Regions from separate parts of the Homo sapiens genome. Here region 2 is linked to region 1. The links are contacts of gene promoters, found by promoter capture Hi-C in blood cells and fetal thymus (Javierre and others, 2016). All regions are on one chromosome and are shown on one strand. Each heading gives the region's core, a stretch centred on a gene start or on the middle of the fragment in contact. The rest is flanking DNA. Distances are from core to core; before and after follow the strand shown. Region 1 holds the start of NCOR2 (nuclear receptor corepressor 2). Region 2 overlaps NCOR2 (nuclear receptor corepressor 2).

What was found. The method cuts DNA at HindIII sites, captures the fragments that hold promoters and counts their contacts. A CHiCAGO score of 5 or more calls a contact.
Region 2: a fragment that was not itself captured here is called in contact with the fragment with the promoter of NCOR2 in region 1 in 1 of 17 cell types (M0 macrophages); the score reaches 5.4 in M0 macrophages.

What each region holds. Positions count from the first base shown.
Region 1 is chr12:124,565,858-124,570,089 of GRCh38, reverse strand. NCOR2 (nuclear receptor corepressor 2) reads left to right here and starts at 2,478. Exons shown (of 49, transcript NM_006312.6): 1 at 2,478-2,782. RefSeq lists enhancers at 165-1,025, 1,026-1,886, 2,053-2,102 and silencers at 2,223-2,472, 2,583-2,942, 2,963-3,072, 3,213-3,432, 3,633-3,732. The HindIII fragment of the contact is 7,570 bases long and covers 1-4,232 here.
Region 2 is chr12:124,405,529-124,409,948 of GRCh38, reverse strand. All of the region lies in intron 15 of NCOR2 (nuclear receptor corepressor 2), which reads left to right. Among named protein-coding and RNA genes, the nearest start is that of MIR6880, 70 kb to the right of the region's middle. The HindIII fragment of the contact is 3,712 bases long and covers 1,287-4,420 here.

The DNA.
Region 1 (4,232 bases), core at 1,229-3,728:
CCTGTAAAATGGGTATGTTGAAAGTCTTTCCCTCACAAAGGCAATTGAGATGTTTGGGAAGCTCTTAGCTGTTACTGTTACTAACTCACAGTCCAGGGGGCCCCCCCGGGAAGGCTGTTTGTGTGCAGTGTTCTTTGGCCGCTTTTTAAAGGTACTGTTCCCATTAGTTGCTCATGGACTGTCACTCAGAGCCCAGTAGAAACAAAGTAGCAAACTAGGGTGCCGGTCTGCGATTGGGGGAAGGGGCGGGCTCAGCTGAGACCTCCCCAGAGTCCAGATTTCCAGCACTCATTTGGAATCACGGGCTGCTGCTGGAGGCTGGCAAGTCGGGTTCTTCATCTCTCCAGGCCTGTTTCCCTACTTGGGACCAGGCCCCTTGCTTCCCCCAGGGTAAGTGCTCACTCAGTGCTGGTGTTACTCCCCGCCGTCTGTGAGGGTGAGATTAATAACCCAATTCAGCCAGGAAACAGGAGCAGACGGGAAAGGGCCAATCCCTTTCGGGATAAACGCTGCCCTTCTCCTGGCCTCAGTCTTGCCATCTGTGACATGGTCGGGCCAGAGGCCATTGGCGCTTGAGTTGATAAGGCTTCCAGTGAGGGATTTCTAGGTGACGCTTGGGACATTACAAAGCTGACAGACCCCCTGCTTTCCCCGCTCCTAAGCCTGCAGGGAGCCCTCGAGGGCAGAAGCTGGGAGACCCCTGAAGACACCCCAAATGTCCCTCCTCCAGCTTCAAATAGAGCTGAATCTCATGGAAATGCAAATTCCCAGAGGGTTTTCAGGTGACAGAGGAGGGCTGCCAGGCGGCCTGGGGCTGGCAGAGGAGCTCCCCCGCCCCCGCTTCCCTCTCCAAGACCCTTGGTGGGGGAGGTGGGGGATCAGGCCTTCCTTCTGCGGCTCCAGCTTTTTGCCTGTGGATTCGGACCGACTGGCTGGGCAGAACTGGAGCTGGTCGGGCCAAAACAAGGAGGTGGGGGGGGGGCACTGACCTATGACCCCTCCTGTTTCAGTCTGCAAACTGCTCCCCTCCACACCCACTTCCCTTTTGCCAGACATTGTCAGCCCCAGAGGCTCCCGCCAGCCCCCCAAAAGCTCATAATTAAAAGCCCGAGGGGGCAGAGAAGGACCTGGCTGCAGGGGAGCCCGGCAAACCCAGCATCCTGGCGGAGGCGGGAGGCCCGCCGGCCTCTGGAAACCACGCGGCTGCCTCCCCACCGCAGCCATTCCCCGCTCTCCCTGGGGGTTCTCAGATGTTGCCAGATGGCAGAACTGAATCTGCTGAGACGTCACTCCAAAAAAGGAAAGTTGAACTGAAAAAAAAAAAAAAAATTCAAACTCTCCAACATCTTAGGAGAAAGCAGAAGAGGAGGGAGGGAGGGAGGCTCCAGGCCCAGGGCTCCCAGTGCCCTCTGCTGTTCAAAGAGATCTGCCCTGGTTGGAGAGGGCAAACCTGGAGGGGGTGGGAGGAGGGGGTAAATGAGGACACTGGGTTGTCAGGGCGGCCAGGGGGGCCAGGTTCCTGCTGGAGCGGAGAGTGTCTGCCTGTGCGTGGGGGAGCGAGCACATGTGTGCCGTCTGTGACTGCGTGCTTGTGCAGGCCGGGCGTGTGTGGCTCCCAGGGTCACGCTTTGGGATGTGTGTGTCTGTGTGTGTGTGTGGGGGGGGCGGGGGGGACACAGGCTCGTTGCATTGTCTCCGCATTTGTGTCCCTGAATGTCCCCAAGTGGGACTTCACTCAACACATTCGTGAGTCCCTACTGCGATAGGGCAGTGAACAAAATAGAAATCTCTGCCCTCAGGAAACTGGCATTCTAGCGTCTGTGTCCTCCGGGGTGCTGTGAACTCGCGTGGGTGTCCCAGTATTTGTCTGTGTGAGATCTGACATCTCCGGTCCGTGGTGGGTGGTGAGTCTGCAGTGTGTTCGCCCGGGCTGGGTCTCGGGTCTGGGGAGGCCCAGCGTGTTCCTGCCTGGAGAGGGCTCTGCGCTACTGTCTGCTCCCGTCCCCAAGTGCCCCACTGGGCGTGCTCCTAAAAGGCCCTGTGTAGGGCCCTCCCTGCGCGCCCCCTCCCCATCCAGCGGCCACTCCAGAGTTATAATTTAATAGCTGAAACGCGATTCCAGTGAGGTACTGGGGCTGGAGAGGAGGAGGAGGGCCCCCGGGCCCGCAGGAGAAGAGGGAGGGGAAGGCTGGGAGGCGCTTCCCCCCTCCTTCCTCCTCGGGGAGCTGCCAAAAAGAAACTCGGCGTCGCGCCCAAGTGTGTGCGTGCGTGTCTGTGTGTGTGGCGGCGTGCGCGCGCGAGTGGGGACGCGCAGGGCCTGGAGAGAAGGCGCGGGCCCTTTAAGGAGCCAGAGGGGGCCGGGCCGGGGCGCGTCGCTGCGGGCGGGGAGCCGGGAGCAGGGAGGCCGAGCCACCGCCTCCCGGGCTCGCGCCCCGCCCCCTCCTCCCCCTCCCGCCGCCGCCGCCGCCGCCGCCGCCGCCACCGCCGCCGCGGCCGCCGGGGAGCGCGGAGCCGCGGGCAGGCCGGGCCGCACCGGAGCCCCGCGTCCGCCGGCGCCCCGCCCGAGCCCTGCGCCCGCGCCCTGCGCTCCGCGATGCGCGCCAACTTGCGGGCCGGGGACCCAGGGCCGGCGCCCTAGGAGGCGGCGGCGGGAGGATCGCGTCCCGACCCGAGGCCGGGCCTGCTGCGCGCCCCCAGCCCGATCGGCACCGCCACTTGCCTGAGCGCCCCGGCGGCCCGAGCGCGCCCCAAGCCCGGGCGCCACCGCTGCCACCTCCGCGAGGTGAGTTGGGGCCGAGGGTCCCCGCGAAGGGCGGGGGGAGGCGCGGAGCGCGCTTCCGGGGGATCCGGGGAGGATCGGGCGGCGCACGCGGCGGAGTTGGCGGGGCCCCTGCACTCCCGAGTTGGCGCTCTCGGGGGGTGGCCTGCTGGGGAGCAAGGCGCCCCGCCGACACTGCGGCCCGCGTGCTCGGGGGCGCCGGGGAACTTAGGGGAACTCCAGCTCCCTAGCGAGGGGGCGGGAAGGAGGGAAGTGGCGTTGGGGTGGGCGGGGGGCGCGCTGGAAATGCACAGAGCGGCCCCCCACAGTGTGCGCCGGCTCTGGGGACTTGGCCGCCAGGCGTCCCTTGTACCCGGTGTAGCCCCGGACCTGGCGGGGCGACACTGCGCCTTATTTTCCATCGGGCAGCGCGGGTTTGAAAGCCCTTGGAGATGGTACCCCTAGCTCCCTGGCCTGGCTGTTGTGGAGGGGCGCATGAGGGTCTCTCACCAGCCGAGGGGGAGAGCCAGCCTTGTCCCTCCTAGGCGTGGGGCCACGGGGCGCTGGGCGGGGTCCCTCGGGAGAGTCGCCCCTGGTCCCCCTCCCCCGCGGGCCGGTGTTCCTGGTGTCTGGGCCTGCCTCCCGTGGCTGGTGACGCCTCATTGGGCCGCCTCCTAGTCCCTCCCCCGGGCTGTGCGGATACTTGGGATGCCACTACTTTGCGAAGTTGGAATTCAGAGCTGATCCCACTTGGGCACGACTGGGAAGACCCAGACCCTTGTCTAGAGGGCAGCTTCCTCAGAGGCCTGCGGGGAGTGAGGGCACCCGTGGGGTACGCCCTCCCCGCCCCAGACACTTGCAGGAGGAGCAAGCCGAGGGCGGGAGGGCACGGCGGGCGGGAGGGAGAGACAGGCTGTACCTGGGAGCTGCTGTCGCCCGGGCCCAATTAGCGTGGGGCGCCCGGCGTTATTTTTACATTGTAGGTTTATTTTTTTGGAAGCGAGTGTCCTCCCGCCGCCTGTCGCGCGCTCCGGCTCTCCGAGGGTCTGGTGCAGGCAGCGGGGGCGGATCTGTTCTGTCGGCTCAGCCTCCTCCCTTCCTCCCCCTCCTCCTCTCCCCCGTTGGTGAGAACTGGTTTTATTGTGATTATTATTATTTTTCCCTTTTTGCAGATTTGGAGGAAGGATGTGTGAGGGAGGGAAGAGGGGAGGAGGGGATAAGGGGAGGACCCTGTGGGCGGGGTGGGGGAGTTCTGGGCGCGTTGGGATGTGTTACCGGTGGCCTTGACTTTGCCCCTTTTCAGCCAGATCTGGGTCCTTGCGGCAGCTTTGATATAAGGGGCTCTCCGGGCCAGACTGCGCCGGGAGGGCGACCCGGGGCAGGCTGTGTACCTCGTGGGTGGCCTCTTTGGGGGTGCTGAGGAGGGGCCGAGAAATGGCAAGCAGCAGTGAGGTGGGATGGCCCACTCTGCACC
Region 2 (4,420 bases), core at 1,893-4,392, 160 kb after region 1:
CCAGCACTTTGGGAGGCTGAGGTAGGTGGATCGCTTGAGCCCAGGAGTTCAAGACCAGCCAGGGCAACATGGTGAGACCCCATCTCTACAAAAAAATTAAAAAATTAGCCGGGTGAGGTGGCTTGCTGCTGTGGTCCGAGCTTCTTGGGAGGCTGAGGTGGAAGCACTGCTTGAGCCCAGAAAGTGGAGGCTGCAGTGAGCCGTGATCATGCCACTGTGCACCTCAGCCTGGGCAACAGAGCAAGACCCTGCGTCCAAAAAAAAGGGCAAACAAGGTCCCTGGAGCTGACACCCATGGGGAACTTGGACCATGTGCAAGCCTCCAAAAAAAAGGGCAAACAAGGTCCCTGGAGCTGACACCCATGGGGGACTTGGACCATGCGTAAGTCAATCAGCATGGCAATTTGAGAGAGTGTTGAAGGGCAAACATGTAAGCCAGGGTCAGGAGGCCACTGCTGGGCAGGAGGGCAGCTTTTATAGGGAGCTGGCCGCAAGGCTTCTCTGAGGAGGTGTCCCTTGGGCTCAGACCTGAGTGATAAGAAGGGACTGGCCAGGCAGAAGTCGGGGGAGCACCCCAGGCCGTGGGCACAGCACGTGCAAAGGCCCTGAAGCAGGAACATGCGGGCCATCTTCCAGGAGACAGGTGGTGGGCATGGGGAGAGCTGCCCTGAGGGAGGTGGGCCAGGGCCAGGAATCCTGGCCTCAGAGCAGGAGCAGGGACTGTGGATTTGATGCCGAGTTGCGGGTCGGGATCTGAATTAGGATTTACAACAGAGCCTCGGCTGGCACAGCACACATCTGTACAGGCGGAACAGGCTTCCATGTGCGTGTTAAATGTTGCTCACGTTCTGTCGACACGCATCTTTCTGCCGTAGAGTGCTGGTAAATGTTTAACAACCAGCTTTCTGTAGGGGGAAGCTGCGTTTGTAGCATGTGCCGGTTGCCATGGTGTAAATAAATCCTCTCACCGTGCCCAGTGCCACGTGACAACGTGCTGCCGCTGACTTGGAACTGGGGAAAGATGCCCCTAGCACCAGGCTGTCTTATCCTGTTCTCACCCTGTGCATGGAGTTGGCGGAAGTCACCTCCACGGCACGGATGACTTCGTAGCTCCATGTAGCCAGATGATCAGGAAGCAATGCCCTTGGAGTGCTTGTAACCTTCGCTTTCTTTCTTTAAAAAAAATTTATTATTTTTTTAGAGATGGAGTCTCGCTCTGTCACCCAGGCTAGAGTGCAGTGGTGCAGTTGAAGCTCGCTGCAGCCTTGATCTCCCAGGTTTAAGCTTTCCTCCCACCTTAGCCTCCTGAGTAGCTGGGACTACAGGGATGCACCACCTAATTAAAATTAGCACCACCAGCTAATTTGTAGTGACAGGGTCTCACTGTGTTGCCCAGGCTGGTCTGAACTCCGAGCCCTAGACAATCCTCCTGCCTGGCCCTCCCAAAGCACTGAGATTACAAGTGTGAGTTACCTTGCCAGGCCATAATTTCTTTAATTGTAAGGTTAAGTGTTTCCATTTTTAATAATGGCCATGAGCTGGTAGCCACTGGCTCCAGCACGCCTTGGTATATCTTTTTTTATTTATTTTTGTTTGAGACAGAGTCTCACTCTGTCACCCAGGCTGCAGTGCAGTGGCGCGATCTTGGCTCACTGCAAGCTCCGCCTCCCGGGTTCACACCATTCTCCTGCCTCAGCCTCCTGAGTAGCTGGGACTACAGGCGCCCGCCACCAAGCCCAGCTAATTGTTTGTATTTTTAGTAGAGATGGGGTTTCACCGTGTTAGCCAGGATGGTCTCGATTTCCTGACCTCATGATCCGCCGGCCTCGGCCTCCCAAAGTGCTGGGATTACAGGCGTGAGCCACCGCGCCCCGCCACGCCTTGGTATATCTTATAAAAAGACAACCCTTAAACGCACTGAGATGGCCTCCCCTGACTGCATTTTCCCCAGCAAGGACAGGAGACTGAATCCGAGGGACAGAGAGCAGGTGTTAGGGAAGAGCTGCCAGCAACAGGGAACCCTGTTCTGCCTCGGCTCTGACCCCTGGCCCCACTTTCCACACCAACCCCAGGCTCCTGGAATCCCCATCCCTACACTGCCAGGAGGTGGAAGGTGTCATGAGGATGCGCCCTCTCAGGGGCACCTGGCACATGGTAGATGCTCAGTGAAGTGTTTGTTGAATGAGTGCATGAGATTGAGCCACAGACGGTGTTGCTGGGTTTTGGGAAGTTCTCCTGACACATTTGTAAGGACTTAGCATCTGAGAATTAAATCTCATCAACCCCTACGTGGGTGGTCGCAGCACCTTCTCACTGGACTGTCTCCTCTCATTCCCGGAATCCACCGTCTTCCTTCCTGCGACCTGCTATTGGATTGCTCTTTAACATGGGGTGGGTCATGTGACTCCCTGCGACCCCTGCACCTTTTGAGAAAGGTCCCCGGGGGCTCCCACCGCCCTCAGAATGCCTCCTGTATTTCTGAGCATGGGTGTTAGCCCTGGCCAGGCCCTCCAGCCATGCCCCAAAGTGCCACTTGGTAGGCACAGGGGCCATTTTCCCATTGCCATGCCGCAGAGGCCTCCTGCTCTGCCAAAGCCCCTTCCCTCGCCCTGCATGTCAGCACGCCTTGCTGCCTCATCTGCATCATGAATGTGCCTTTTGAATGTGTCCTCGTCACCGGCGCCTCCATCTGGCCTGTCTTTGTCAACCTAAATACAAGCTCCATACAGTTGGGGGCCACATCTTTCTGTGGCTGGTGTGCCCCTTGGGGGTTCAGGTTATGCTGGCGGAAGGAAAGAATCAGGCAATGGCATCATTTGGTTTAAATGGGCATAGGGAGGAGGCTGTGAACCCCCAGCCCAGGGCGGAGGTAGGGCACCTGGCTGTAGGACCTTCTAGGAAATGCTGTGTGACCTTGGATGAGTTACTTAAACTCCCTCTGTCTTTGCATTCTCATCCATAAAACTGGGATGATACCAGTTGTTGGGAGGATTCAAATAACAGGTAGGAAGTGATTAGGAGAAGAAGGCCTCATCAAATGTGCTCAGCGAGCTTTTGCTGTTTTTAATTAAGATATTTTTCTGCATAGCCCCCAGTCTGGGGCTTCTGCACAGGCCCAGTCATGTGCTGCTTGTCTGGCAGGCTGAGGGTTATGGGTTCAGTGTCCAGATCTGGGGGCAGGTGTCTCTTGGGGCTTTGGGCCAGTGGCTCTGGCTAACCATAGATCCAGTAGGGTTTGTCACAGAGTTGTACTGTGGTTTGGGGGGATGTTTCTGACCACGCACAGGGCACAAACCCACTGTCAGCCTGACCAGTGGCACATCTGAAAGGCAGAGGTAGCCCTCCACCACGAGGGCGGGGTCCTTTGAGATAGTGGAGCTGGCTTCTAGTTCTTTCTGATTCTCCTTTCAGTCCCCTCACGTTGAGGGAATGGTGCCCACAGGCGTTTTCTGCTGCACAGAGTCCTTTATGTGCCTTGTGAGACAAGGATTCTTGAAGGCCTCACTCCTCAGTGGGATCTGAGGCCAGCCGTGGCAGCTTCTCCTGGCGCAGGTTAGAAATGCAGAGTCCCAGGCCCCACCCCAGACCGACTGAGTGGGAATTGGCAGGGGATGTGTGTGCACCTGCAGGTGTGGGTAACACTGGCCTGGAGCAGAGTGCTCTAACGAAAGCCCACAGGCCAAATCCGGCCCACCACCTGCTTTTGTAAATAAAGTTTTATTGGCACACAGCCGTGCCCTTTTGTTGATATAAGGGCCGCTTTCACAAGACAGTGGCAGAATTGAGAAGGGGGTTGACAGAGACGGCATACTTATCCTCTGGCCCTTACAGAAAACGTTTGCCAGTCCCTGGTAAAGCACTGGTTCTCAAATCTGGCTGCCCATCGGGATAACCTGGAATTTAACATACGAACGCCTGGGTCTCCGCCCAGAGATTTGGATGTCATTGGTGTGGGGTGCGGCCTGGGCATCAGGACTTCGCAGGGCTCCCCACGAGATCTGAGTGTGCAGCCAATGTCATGGGACCTTGAGAACCATGGCCCCCAGTGGCCCGGGAAGCCCAGCAGGTGCAGTTCTGCCGCTCTATGGACAGGCCCAAGACCCAGCAGCCCAGCCTCGCCAGTGTCGGCTGCTGCACTTGCTGCCCTAAAACATAGAAGGCTTTGGGGGCTGAGCCGGCTGCCGGGTCCCCCCAGCTCCTCAGGGGGAGTTGTGAGCTGGGACCTCCCTCTCCCTGCATAATCTCCCAGCAGCGAGTATGAGCGGCCCTCAATCAGTCCCTCGGCCTCCCGGGTGGCCACTGCGAGACCCTGCAGATGTTCATCATTAAGGCTGCCGGGGTCTGTCCCACTGGAAAGCATATTTTAAGGCCAGGGCTGCTCTGCTATTCCTCCTTTTCATCTTCCCCCACCGGACTCACT